Regions from separate parts of the Homo sapiens genome. Here region 1 is linked to region 2. The links are contacts of gene promoters, found by promoter capture Hi-C in blood cells and fetal thymus (Javierre and others, 2016). All regions are on one chromosome and are shown on one strand. The core of a region is centred on a gene start or on the middle of the fragment in contact, and the rest is flanking DNA. Distances in the headings are between cores, read along the strand shown. Region 1 overlaps RABGAP1 (RAB GTPase activating protein 1). Region 2 holds the start of ZBTB6 (zinc finger and BTB domain containing 6).

Region 1 (5,757 bases), core at 1,030-3,529, 150 kb before region 2:
CTTACTGCAAAGAACTGCAGCTGGTGACCCTTCTATTGTAAGATGGAAAATGTGCTATTAAGAATGGATTTCCTATAGGAAAATACTCAAACTAATCGCAAAAGGAGGAGGTAAAGTGCTCCCAGTAGAAAAACTGCTGCTTTAATTGATGCTTTGGAATGAAGCCCATATGCCAGTTTTCAAATGGAAAAGAGTAGTTACTTAATTGGGATTTGTCCTAGAGGCAAATGGCATAAGAATGCACAAAGCAATCTACTCAGTATGAACAAGACCACCAAATGCCAAGGGATTCAAACAGGCTATGGGAAAATATCCTTTGCTTTTTCCAATGGACAAAAACTGTTTCCTCTTCTATAATGAGTTAACTAAAACGGAACAAATGTCAATAATGTCAACAAACCTTTGTAAAATACACCAAGCACCCAGTTATTTCTAATATTCTCCCCTTGTTAAATTTCATTTGCTGACACAGTAAAGAACTGGAACACAGAAATATGACCTTCTACTTTAACAATGCAGTGTCTTCATAGCTAAGACAATAGAGTTGATTCCCCTTGGTAAGAATACATCATAATCAGTATACTACCAAAGAACATGATACCTCTGTTTTAAGATGAAAAATGCAAGTGATGTTCTTCTCTTGTCCAATAATTTCTCTAGCCTTTTGGGTAATCATGTTCCGAAGGCCATGAATATTTTATAGTTGTGGGATCTGAACTAACTTTAAAGCCTATGCTCCTTCTTAAACAGTAAACTATTTATACCTTCAAGGATGTCGCCAAATTGCTTTTCAAAGAGCTTTAGTGGCATATGTTACTTCTAGTTATTAACATAGTCTTAACAGTTAATGGCAGCTCAGGACTGTGGTGCTCTTCAACAAAAGGAAAAAATCCAAGGGAGATCTATGACTACAGCAGCTAATTACATGGTGGCAGCTTCCAGACTGAATTAGAGCTCCGCGTTGGAGGTATCTTCAAAAGTTGAGAAAGTGGGAGAGAGAGGGAGAGCAAGCGAGAGTGAGAAAATGAGAGAGCGAGCGAAGTGAGCGAGAGTGAGAGTGAGAGCGAGTGAGAGAGCACGCACACAAATTTTGGGGCGGGCAAGGTAGCTAGAATTGTAGGGTAGAGTGCTAGTGAGGAATATGCTGAACAGAGAGCTGAAGAGTTAGAAGAGGGGTCGCTATGAGATATGAATTATAAATAAACGACAAGCTGGACACTTCATCAAAATTTAAAAATCTTACTATTCAAAAAACTGTTTAAAATATGAAAAGGTAAGTCACAGGCCAGGACACAATGCCTACAAAACATATCTGATAATAAAGTTGGAGTTGTATCCAGAATATATAACTCTCCAAATTAATGAGAAAGACAATTAATTTTTTAAAGTGGGAATGTGTAAATGATTGAGGTGTTTCATTAAGGAAGATATAACACATGGCAAATAAGCACTTGAAAAGATGTCAACATTACTAGCCCTCAGGGCAGTGCAAATTAAAACCACAATGAGATTCCACTACATATCTACAAAATGCTAAAATTAAGAAGTGTTGGCAAAGGATAAGAAACAACTGGAACTCCTATACAATGCAAAATGGTACAAACACTTTGTAAACAGTTTGGTGGTTTCTTACAATAGTAAACACATAATTACCATACAACCCAGTGATTCCATTCCTAGGTATTTACCAAAGAGAACTGAACATATAAATGCATGAAAAGACTTAAACTCAAATGTTTACAGAAGCTTTATTCCTAACAGCCAAAACTGGAAACAATCCAGAGAGAATCAGATGAATTTAGGAATTCTATAAAACAACAACAGAAGCTCTAAAAAATGCTAAGAATGATAAACTGTGGTTTAAGACAACTACGAAGGTTAGGAAATTAAATTGAGAATGGAGAGGAATATGGAAACGTTCAAAATATTTTACACCAGTTACATCAATCATATCACACTGATTACGGAGATGACAACCTGAAAAAGGATACAGTTATTAGAGATATGAGATTTGGGCTGGGCATGGTAGCTTATGCCTGTAATCCCAGCACTTTCAGAGGCTGAGACAGGTGGGTCACTTGAGGCCAGGAGTTTGAGACCAGCCTGGCAACATGGTGAAACCCTGTCTCTGACTACAAATACAAAAATTAGCCAGGCATGGTGGCAGGTGCCTGTAATCCCAGCTACTTGGAAGGCTGAGGCATGAGAATCGCTTGAGCCAGTGAAGCAGAGGCTATAGTGAGCCAACATCGTGGCACTGCACTCCAGCCTGGGCGACACAGCGAGACCTGTCTCAATTAAAAAAAAGAGAGAGAGAGGAGACGAGATTTAGAAATTCAACTGTACACAGGACGTAAAAAATAACAAAAAACTGAAAGTACTCTCTATAACTGGGCCAGTTCTTGTCAATTTGCCATCCCATATCCATTAATCATGGAATTATCAGAGAATGAAGGGGCAAAATGCCCTTAAAAGAAGGTCATTTTGAAAATTCACACTCAATTTTTGATGCCTTCAAGAATGATAATAAATTGAGGAGTTCCATGTGAATCATTTGCTTAAAATATTTGGCCTTAAGGAAATATGCTGAAGAACTTGGAATAAATTCATTTGACTTGCTGGAGGCCACATCATGCAAAAGTGATGCAGAAATTCTAATAATGATGAGTTTAGTAAGTTCCTATCAGAATGACATTAAATTTGAAAAGGTTCTGAAAATAAAACACAGCAACATTATGGATGATCCCCTAAGAGAAAAAAAGCAAAGAGCTTTTCAAAATAGTCAAAGCAAGTGCTTACAAAATTAAGCTTTATACAACAATATATATTCCTTTTCTTTCTTGTTTCGCTCTTGTCGCCCAGGCTGGAGTACAATGGAGCAATCTTGGCTCACCGCAACCTCCGCCTCCCTGATTCAAGCGATTCTCCTGCCTCAGCCTCCCAAGTAGCTGGGATTACAGGCATGTGCCACCACGCCTGGCTAATTTTTGTATTTTTAGTAGAGACGGGTTTTCTCCACGTTGGTCAGGCTGGTTTTCAACTGACCTCAGGTGATGCGCACGCCTTGACCTCCCAAAGTGTTGGGATTACAGCTGTAAGCTACCACACCCGGCCATATTCCTTTTATTTCTAAGGAGTTAAACATAAATGTAACTGATGTAGAGAGCCTGCCAATGCAACACATGTAACACTATTCGTGGCCAAACTGATCAAGTCAACCAAATACATCCTCTTAAGGAGGCTGTAGTTAGTATAATGGCTTAACAGACAAGTTTTTATAAATGTACTTACGGCAACAGTGCACAGATGGTGACTTTAAAAGAACACGGAATGAATGGCAAAAGTATTGTCAGTTGTTACGTTCTGAAAATTACTGCTGTTATAAGAGAGGTGGGTTGTTTTGTTTTGTTTTGTTTTGTTTGATCAACTGGTTTTGTGTTTTGGCTAATTCATTTATCCCAAGAAAAACACCCTTAATTTCCAGAAGAAAACAAAAATGCAATAGGATTATGCACTATTGCCATCTTGCAAACTTCTTCTATAAAGGGTCAGGTAAAAATTTTTGGCTTTGCAAGCCATTCAGTGCTGCAGTTATTCAACTCTTCCCTTGTAGAGCAGCCATAGACAATATGTAAATAAACAAGCACTGCTGTGTCCTAACAAAACTTTATTTATAAAAGCAAGCGCATGCCAGGCGCAGTAGCTCATGCCTGTAATCCTAGCACTTTGGGAGGCCGAGGCGAGTAAACCACTTGAGCCCAGGAGATTGAGACCAGCCTGGGCAACATGGCAAAATCTCATCTCTACAAAAATACAAAAATTAGCCGGGCGTGCTGGCATACACCTGTCTTAGCTATTCGGGAGGCTGAAGCAAGAGGATCCCTTGAGCCCAGGAGGTAGAGGTTGCAGTGAGCCAAGACTGTGCCACTGTGCTCCAGCCTGGGCAGTAAGAGAGAGAGCCTGTCTTATACAACAATAACAACAACAACAAAAATGAATAAACAAAAGTGAGAGGCAAACTGAACCTGGCCCTGAGGTGGTAGTTTGTTAACCCTTGTTATAAGTATACTACAACACAGTAATTTGTTATGGTCAGCATGACCAGAGAGAAGATTTTTGTTATGATTTTAAATATACTAACATGTTATTAATTTTATACATGCTTTGCCCTCAGAAACTTTGTCACAACCTGCTACAACTTGAAATGTATATCTCTTTGAACACTTTTGTACTTTTTTCACATAATAACAAATGTTAAAAATGTTTGCTGCATTTTGCAAAAGTCTGTATATTCCTGTCTATGCAGTGTAGTACACGTTTCAATAAAACCCTGTAATTGTAGTGGTATATAGTCCCTGACATTTCAAGCAGCAAAATAAACAGTATATACAGCTCACAAATTATAAACACAAACTGACACACATGAGACTGGCTAAAATAAAAATACCAAATGTTGGTGAGAATATGAAATTACTGGAACTCTCAATGGTTGCTAATGGGTGTGTAAATGATATAACCACTTTGGTAAAGAACATGGCAGTTTCCCAGAAAGTTAAATATATACCTAACTACCATGACCCAGCAATTCCATTCCTAATACCCTCATGTGTAATAGCCCAACTAGAAACCTCAAATGTCCATCTACAGAAAAAGTGATAAATTATGGTATATCCATCTAATGGAATACTACCCAGCAATACAAATGAACCTCTAATACATGAAACAACACAAATAAATCTCAAAAACATTATGTTGAGCAAAAGCCCATGGTGACAGAAACCGAAATGGTTACCTGGGGGTGGGAGGGAAATCAACTGAAAAGGGGCATAAGGGAACTTTCTGAGATGACAGAAATGTTTATATTTTCTTTGGTGTTTACACAAATATAAGAAATTGTCAAAACTCATCAAAATGAACACATAAGGTGTATGTTTATTGTATGTAAATTATACTACACTCACAAAAACTGTAATCTCACATTCCCCACCTCCCTCCACCAACATTTCTCAACAGTTCTCTATTCTTGTGAATGGCAGCAGGTTTTACCACCTTGTTTCTGATTCTAGCTACCATGAATCATCACTGATCTGGAGATCTTTCTGCAGAGTCTGGATTCTGTCTCTTCCTTTCCACTTCTAGTGCATCACCCAAAGGCAGACCCATGCTTCATCTTACCAAGACTAATATAACAGCCTAAATGATTGTCTTAGTCGCTTTGGGCTACTCTAACAAAATATTACAAACTGGGTGGCTTATAAACAACAGGAATTGTTTTTACAGTCTGGGAGGCTGGAAATTCCAAGATCAAGATGCTGGAAAATTCAGTGTTTGGTGAAGGGTCGCTTTGCAGCTCATAGGTGGCATGTGCTTGCTGTGTTCTCATATGGGGCAGGGCAGCTCTCTAGGTCTCTTCTTTATAAGAGCACAAATCCCATGCATAAGGACTTTGCCCTCATGACCTAATCACCTCCCAAAGGCCCCATCTCCTAACAGCATCACATTAGTGATTAGTTTTTTTTGTTTTTGTTTTTTAATTTTTATTTATTTTGAGACGGAGTATCGCTCTGTCACCCAGGCTGGAGTGCAGTGGCGCAATCTCGCCTCACCGCAACCTCCGCCTCCCGGGTTCACGCCATTCTCCTGCCTCAGCCTCCTGAGTAGCTGGGACTACAGGTGCCCGCCACCACGCCTGGCTAATTTTTTTAATTATTTAGTAGAGACGGGGTTTCACTGTGTTAGTCAGGATGGTCTCGATCT
Region 2 (6,092 bases), core at 3,574-6,073:
TGCCTATTGATTATTCCTCCATGTCTGATAAATGAATCTGCTTCCTACCATTTGTACTTGTCTTGGAGCTGGCTATAAAGAAGTATGCTGGTTTGTTATGTACTCTTTTCAACAGTATCATAGCCCAACTTCATCTCATTGAATTGTTCACATATACCAGAGTACTCTCTCTTGAGGAACACCTGCAGGCAGATAGTTAGGGATGACCATGAGGAGCATAATCAACAGGGATAGAAGTACACTTATACAACAGCACTTACATGGGCGGTTTCTCTGGTAGCATGTCCCATAAGAGGCCATATGCTTATAATTAATGTGTAACTTGTTGATGCTTTTGAGATCAGGACTGCTCCAGGCACGCTAAAAATGTGCTAAAGTATAGTGGGCTCTCTAAAAAGAGGCTATTTGGGAGTCTCTGAATTTTGTTTCAGAGTTTAGCCATCAGAAAGGTGAGTTTGGCCATCAGAGTTTTGTCCTGTGCACCATAAAAGTCTCTGAATTTTCGTTTCCTCATGTACCTTAATTTCTAAAACGGATGATAAAAGTTAGGTTGGACACAGAAGGGGCAATCAAATTTCTGTATTCAGATACCTCTTAAAGGTACACTGTGCCACCTTGCTGCCTTTGATTGCAAATACAAAGTTAATTTTCAAAAAGGAAAAACAAAACAGCTCTTTTTCCTAAAACACATGTTGTACTTCAGACCTAAAATTCTAAGTCTTATTTGTTTCTCACCCATGAGTTAGATTTAGGTAATAGTATTAGTAGAGTCCTTAGAGAATCTTAAGAGGTCATTTACTCCACCTCTTTCATTTTAAATTGGGGTATCCAAAGCCTGAAGAGGTGGCCTGGCCAATATTGACCAAGGTATAACTAAATATGAGCTAGCATCTTCTTCCTTCTTCTCGCTATCCCTTGGCTTTAAAAGATTTAGTACATGAAGAATAATGCATTAGCAAAAAGCTCCTAGTTTGTGTTTCCCCTTTGTGTCTCCCTGTTGGCTTTCTGAGACAACCTGAATTTTGCCAACAAAATATCGCAGAGGGATTTATATTAATTATTTTTTAGTTAGATGAATATTATATTCTTCCCATCCAAGTGAGTGATTTGCTAGGTTTGTTTAGGGAGGGAAAAAGCAAGAATAATGTGAGAAGAATCTAAATGCGAAGTTGATTTTGTGTGGAAAACTGTTTATTAGTTTCCATCAGGATTTTCTGTTTTTATTTTTGAGCTATGAGAGTGCATGCAGATTTGAAAAATTAGGCTTGCATAGTCAGAGGGGATCTTCAATTGTTATATTTGATACGTTTACATGTATCATTGTTATCATATGTAAATTATCATCATGTGAGTCAGATGTGAAGTATGATTTTTGTCTTTTGTTCAAATATTTAAAATGATAATACAGTTGAGTGGTAAGACTAATAGGTACCTTATGCCTAACATCACTCATTATATGGTCTAATGATGCTTCCTAGCATTGTGATTTTTACATGATCCAGCCAAAGAGTACCAATTCTATGCAATAGTGAGACTCTACCCTGTCAACCAAACAGCATTTTTTGGTATTTTCTGTCAACATCATTTCTTCACAGGGAAATTTCAAGTTGGAGTGCTTCGTTTGCTCACATTCATGTCTTGTTTTTGTTACTGGTTTGAAGACTAAAAGGCACGGGTTCAAATAAGATTGGTCTCTTTGGTTGGAGACTATTTCTGGGTTCATTCAGTTGTTCAAGAAACATTAGTTAAGCACCTACTGTTGCTAGACACTATGCTAGATACTGAGGATAATGAAGGTAAGATTGATATAGTCCCTGCCCTCATGGAGCTTATAGTCTCATGTGGTCTTAGTGAAACAAAGTCTCAATTTGCTTTTATACTAGAAATAATAAAGAAAGCTGCCTTGCTGTATTCGATCAGTTAAAATCAGCAACTTTGTGCTTTTGTATCAGTAAAACATTTAGTTCTCACCTTTTGAAAATGCAAACCACTGAAGTGATTTACAGTCTCCTCCATTTTTGGCTGGAGAGGTGTTCTGTTTCTGTGAGACATTTTTCTAATTTTTGTGGAACTTCACTTTCCTCCTTCTTTGCTTATACGTGTTTGTTAGATTATATTGCAAAGAAGTCAAGTTACTGATATCCAGTATTTTACAGAGGAAGATGACTTTCAAAACTAGTCATATTTCTGTAGAGGAGGAAGATTTTTAAAACCTTTATCATTCAGCATTTGTATTTTATGGATCCCCAGGAGAACTAAAAAGGAGATGACTCTCTACCATAGTTTGGTTTAAAAAAAAATTACTCTGTCAGTTATTTATTTATTATTTAATACTAAACTCCAAACTGAAGTGGCTCTGAGGTAAATCAGATATGATTTTAATTTAAGTTTCTTTATTAGCAGATCTATAAATGGAAGGTGACCAATGTCACTGCTTCTAAAATACTGTCCTAAACAACCCAGAAGATTTTATTTCAGCTCATGAATAGCTGTTCTAAATCTGTTGTATGTTAGACATACTATGAACTACCTCTTCACTTATTATGGGGAAGTTTCCTTAATAAAAGTGTGACGATTAAAGCTCTGGTGTCATTGGTTATTTTCTCACTCTCCCCTCCTTCTATTCTTTTTTAATTGCTTTACTTTGAATACAGGAAGGTCTTCTTTATGTATAGTCTTAAAAATACATATTAAGCATGCTGAGCTTGCCTTCAGAAAAAAATACGAATTAATCAGAAAGTTGTTACTAGATTCATTTACTTCCACGAGAACCTGTTGCTGGAGGAGCAGAGCAACTGCCTTTAAGAATTGGTTCAGAGGCGGCCGGGCGCGGTGGCTCACGCCTGTAATCCCAGCACTTTGGGAGGCCGAGGCGGGTGGATCACAAGGTCAGGAGATCGAGACCATCCTGGCTAACACGGTGAAACCCCGTCTCTACTAAAAATACAAAAAATTAGCCGGGCCTGGTGGCAGGGCATTAGTCCCAGCTACTCGGGAGGCTGAGGCAGGAGAATGGCGTGAACCCGAGAGGCGGAGCTTGCAGTGAGCCAAGATCGCACCACTGCACTCCAGTCTGGGCGACAGAGCGAGACTTTGTCTCAAAAAAAAAAAAAAAAAAAAAAAAAAAGGAATAGAATTGGTGCAGAGGCCGGGCGCGGCGGCTCATGCCTGTAATCCCAGCACTTTGGGAGGCCAAGGCGGGTGGATCACCTGAGGTCAGGAGTTCGAGACCGGCCTGGCCAACATGGTGAAACCCCGTCTCTACCAAAAATACAAAAAGTAGCTGGGTGTGGTGGCAGGCACCTGTAATCCCAGCTACTCGGGAGGCTGAGGCAGGAGAATTGCTTGAACCTGCTAGGCGGAGGTTGCGGTAGGCCGAGATCGTGCCACTGCACTCCAGCCTGGACCACAGAGTGAGACTCTGTCTCAAAAAAAAAAGAAAAAGAATTTCTTCAGTCATATCTTCATTCAGCACAAATACTTGATGCCTACCAAGTGCTAGACTTCGAGAATACAAAGATCAGTAAGCCACTGTCCTAAATAACTCTGCCTAGATGAGGCACAAATTAATACAGGCGTGTTAAGTGCAATAATGAAGGCAGGAAAAGGGATTACAGGTTTCAAACTGGGAACCAATTATCTTAGGGCAGTTCAGGATGGCTTCAGGATGATGAGATTTATAAACGGGTTCTTTAAAGATACGTTGGGGAAGGCCGGGCTCGGTGGCTCACGCCTGTAATCCCAGCACTTTGGGAGGCCAAGGCGGGCGGATCACGAGGTCAGGAGATCGAGACCATCCTGGCTAACACGGTGAAACCCCGTCTCTACTAAAAATACAAAAAAAAAAAAATTAGCCAGGCGAAGTGGCGGGCACCTGAAGTCCCAGCTTACTCGGGAGGCTGAGGCAGGAGAATGGCGTGAACCCAGGAGGCGGAGCTTGCAGTGAGCCGAGATCCTGCCGCTGCACTCCAGCCTGGGCGACAGAGAGAGACTCCGTCTCAAAAAAAAAAAAAAAAAGCCTGGGGAAAAGGCTAGGGCACGTCAGAGGAAACAGCTGGGCCAAAAGTTTTGGGATGGAGGAACGCATTTAAGTGTGAAGCTAGATCCAGAGGTTGGGGCCATCTCCTGATGGGGCATTATCTAGGCAATCTCGAATACGGATCTTTATGATAGTTTCTGCTCTGCCACCTTTCAAGTTGTAGGTGGCCCCAATAAGGAGAGGAATCGTCCCAGAATAATCCATAAAAGGTCTGGTTACTCTGACAGACGTGCCGTAACCGAACCTCAAACCCCGTCTCCAATTCGGATGTTCAGGAGGACTCACAAAAGGAAATGGCTCGGCTGGGCGCGGTGGCTCAACCCGGTAATCCCAGCATTTAGGGAGGCCGAGGCGGGCGGATCTCCTGAGGTCAGGAGTTCGATACCAGCCTAGCCAACATGGTGAAACCCCGTCTCTACTAAAAATACAAAAATGAGCCGGGCGTGGTGGCGGGCGCCTGTAATCTCAGCTACTTGGGAGGCTGCGGAGCGAGAGTCGCTTGAACCCGGGAGGCGAAGGTTGCAGTGAGCCGAAATCGCGCCATTGCACTCCAGCCTGGGCAACAAGAGCGAAACTCCGTCTTAAAAAAAAAAAGGGATGGTGGGGGAAAACGGCTCGAGTGCCGAAACTGGGACAAGAGAGATGGGGCTTGCCGGCATTCAGGAGCCTTTCTGTCATTCCAAGAGGGGGGAAGTGAGGAAGGAAGACCGTCTCAGAATGTCCTTCCGGGGCGCCTAGAGGGCCCCAGTAAAGAATAAAGCTGGTTGGCACCGGATGTGTTTTCTTCCAGGCTAAGTCCATCTTCCGGCTTGGGCAGACGCTGCCGCGGAATCCTTGACTCTAGTTTTCTGAGTCGGTGAGTGAGTGCAAAGTAGATTCCTCAGGTGGAGGGTGCCTGAGGAAGAGGAGGAGGAGGAGGAGGACAGCTGGGCTCGGCCCCGGAGTGGCTAATCTTGTGCTGCAACCACTGGGCCGACAGGGCCTTGGCCCTTCGCAGGGTTGCCTCCAGAATACCTGTGTGCTGAACCTGGCATCCGGTTTCAGTTCAGCAGATGTTCCCTGAGCTCCTCCTGCTCTGTGTGGGCCCCTGAGCTCGGTGCAGGAACACAGATGCATCAGGCACCATCTCGCGGTGCTCAGAGAGCAGCTGACTCTCTCTGGTTGAAACGGGAGGTGGAGTCATATTAGTTTTACTTGATTTGGGCTTAAAGGAGCCTAATCACTAGCTGAAAAAAGGAACTGGAAACGCGAATGTAAGAAATGTGTATTCGTGTCTTTTTGTCTGGGTAATGATGGAAAAATTTAGTATTGAACGAGGTTCGAGTATGAAAAAGAGAATAGAAGGTGATAAAGCCATAAAGATGGGTTAGAGCCAAATCGTGATGGGTCTCGTATTCTTTCCTAAGAAATCTGGACTGTCCCGGAGGTAGAGAAGAACGATAGAAGATTTAAAGCAGAAAAGGGAAATTAAAAATAAAATAAAATAAGGGTTGTTAATCCTGGTGGCACTCAGGCGGGTAATCTGGCATACAGAAGAGTGTGGTATAAAGAAGACCTGTTGGAAGACATTGCAGTTGTCCAGGTGAACCGGAAGGAGGACCTGTTGTAGTGGTGGGGAGTAGGAAGTTTGGAGATTACGTTAAAGTTGCTAATTGGATATATTATGTTAAATCAACTTTTTGGTGGTCACAGTGCTTATATTGGATATTCAAAATTGATAGATTGTTCTTGACCACAAGGCACACAACATTTAGCAAAAGAAACAAGCTAGAAACTGTTCACTACAATTCATTGTAATGAATGTTGTAACAAAGTTATGAAAAATGTGCTATGAGATCATAGAGAAGTGCATTATAAAGTTCTCGTTTTGAGATGGTGGCATAAAGGTTCATAACACCTACATTAGACTTTGAGTCTTCTTCTTCCTAATTCAGGTTTGGGGTTTTTCGTTTGTTTTCACCATTACAGCATGGGAAAGCATTCCCTATCCTTATTACATCAATGTTTGTGTTTTATTTTGCTTAGATTGTGATCATGGCTGCTGAGTCTGATG

The links. The method cuts DNA at HindIII sites, captures the fragments that hold promoters and counts their contacts. A CHiCAGO score of 5 or more calls a contact.
Region 1: a fragment that was not itself captured here is called in contact with the fragment with the promoter of ZBTB6 in region 2 in 1 of 17 cell types (megakaryocytes); the score reaches 6.9 in megakaryocytes.

What each region holds. Positions count from the first base shown.
Region 1 is chr9:123,059,346-123,065,102 of GRCh38, reverse strand. The region is part of intron 13 of RABGAP1 (RAB GTPase activating protein 1); the gene reads right to left. It also overlaps the pseudogene LOC100422501. Among named protein-coding and RNA genes, the nearest start is that of GPR21, 29 kb to the right of the region's middle. The HindIII fragment of the contact is 1,062 bases long and covers 1,749-2,810 here.
Region 2 is chr9:122,912,054-122,918,145 of GRCh38, reverse strand. It overlaps ZBTB6 (zinc finger and BTB domain containing 6), which reads left to right and starts at 4,823. Exons shown (of 2, transcript NM_006626.6): 1 at 4,823-4,895; 2 at 6,065-6,092. The coding sequence starts at 6,074. It overlaps ZBTB26 (zinc finger and BTB domain containing 26), which reads left to right. Exons shown (of 2, transcript NM_020924.4): 2 at 1-2,580. RefSeq lists enhancers at 2,533-3,290, 4,759-4,988, 4,999-5,108. The HindIII fragment of the contact is 12,849 bases long and covers 1-6,092 here.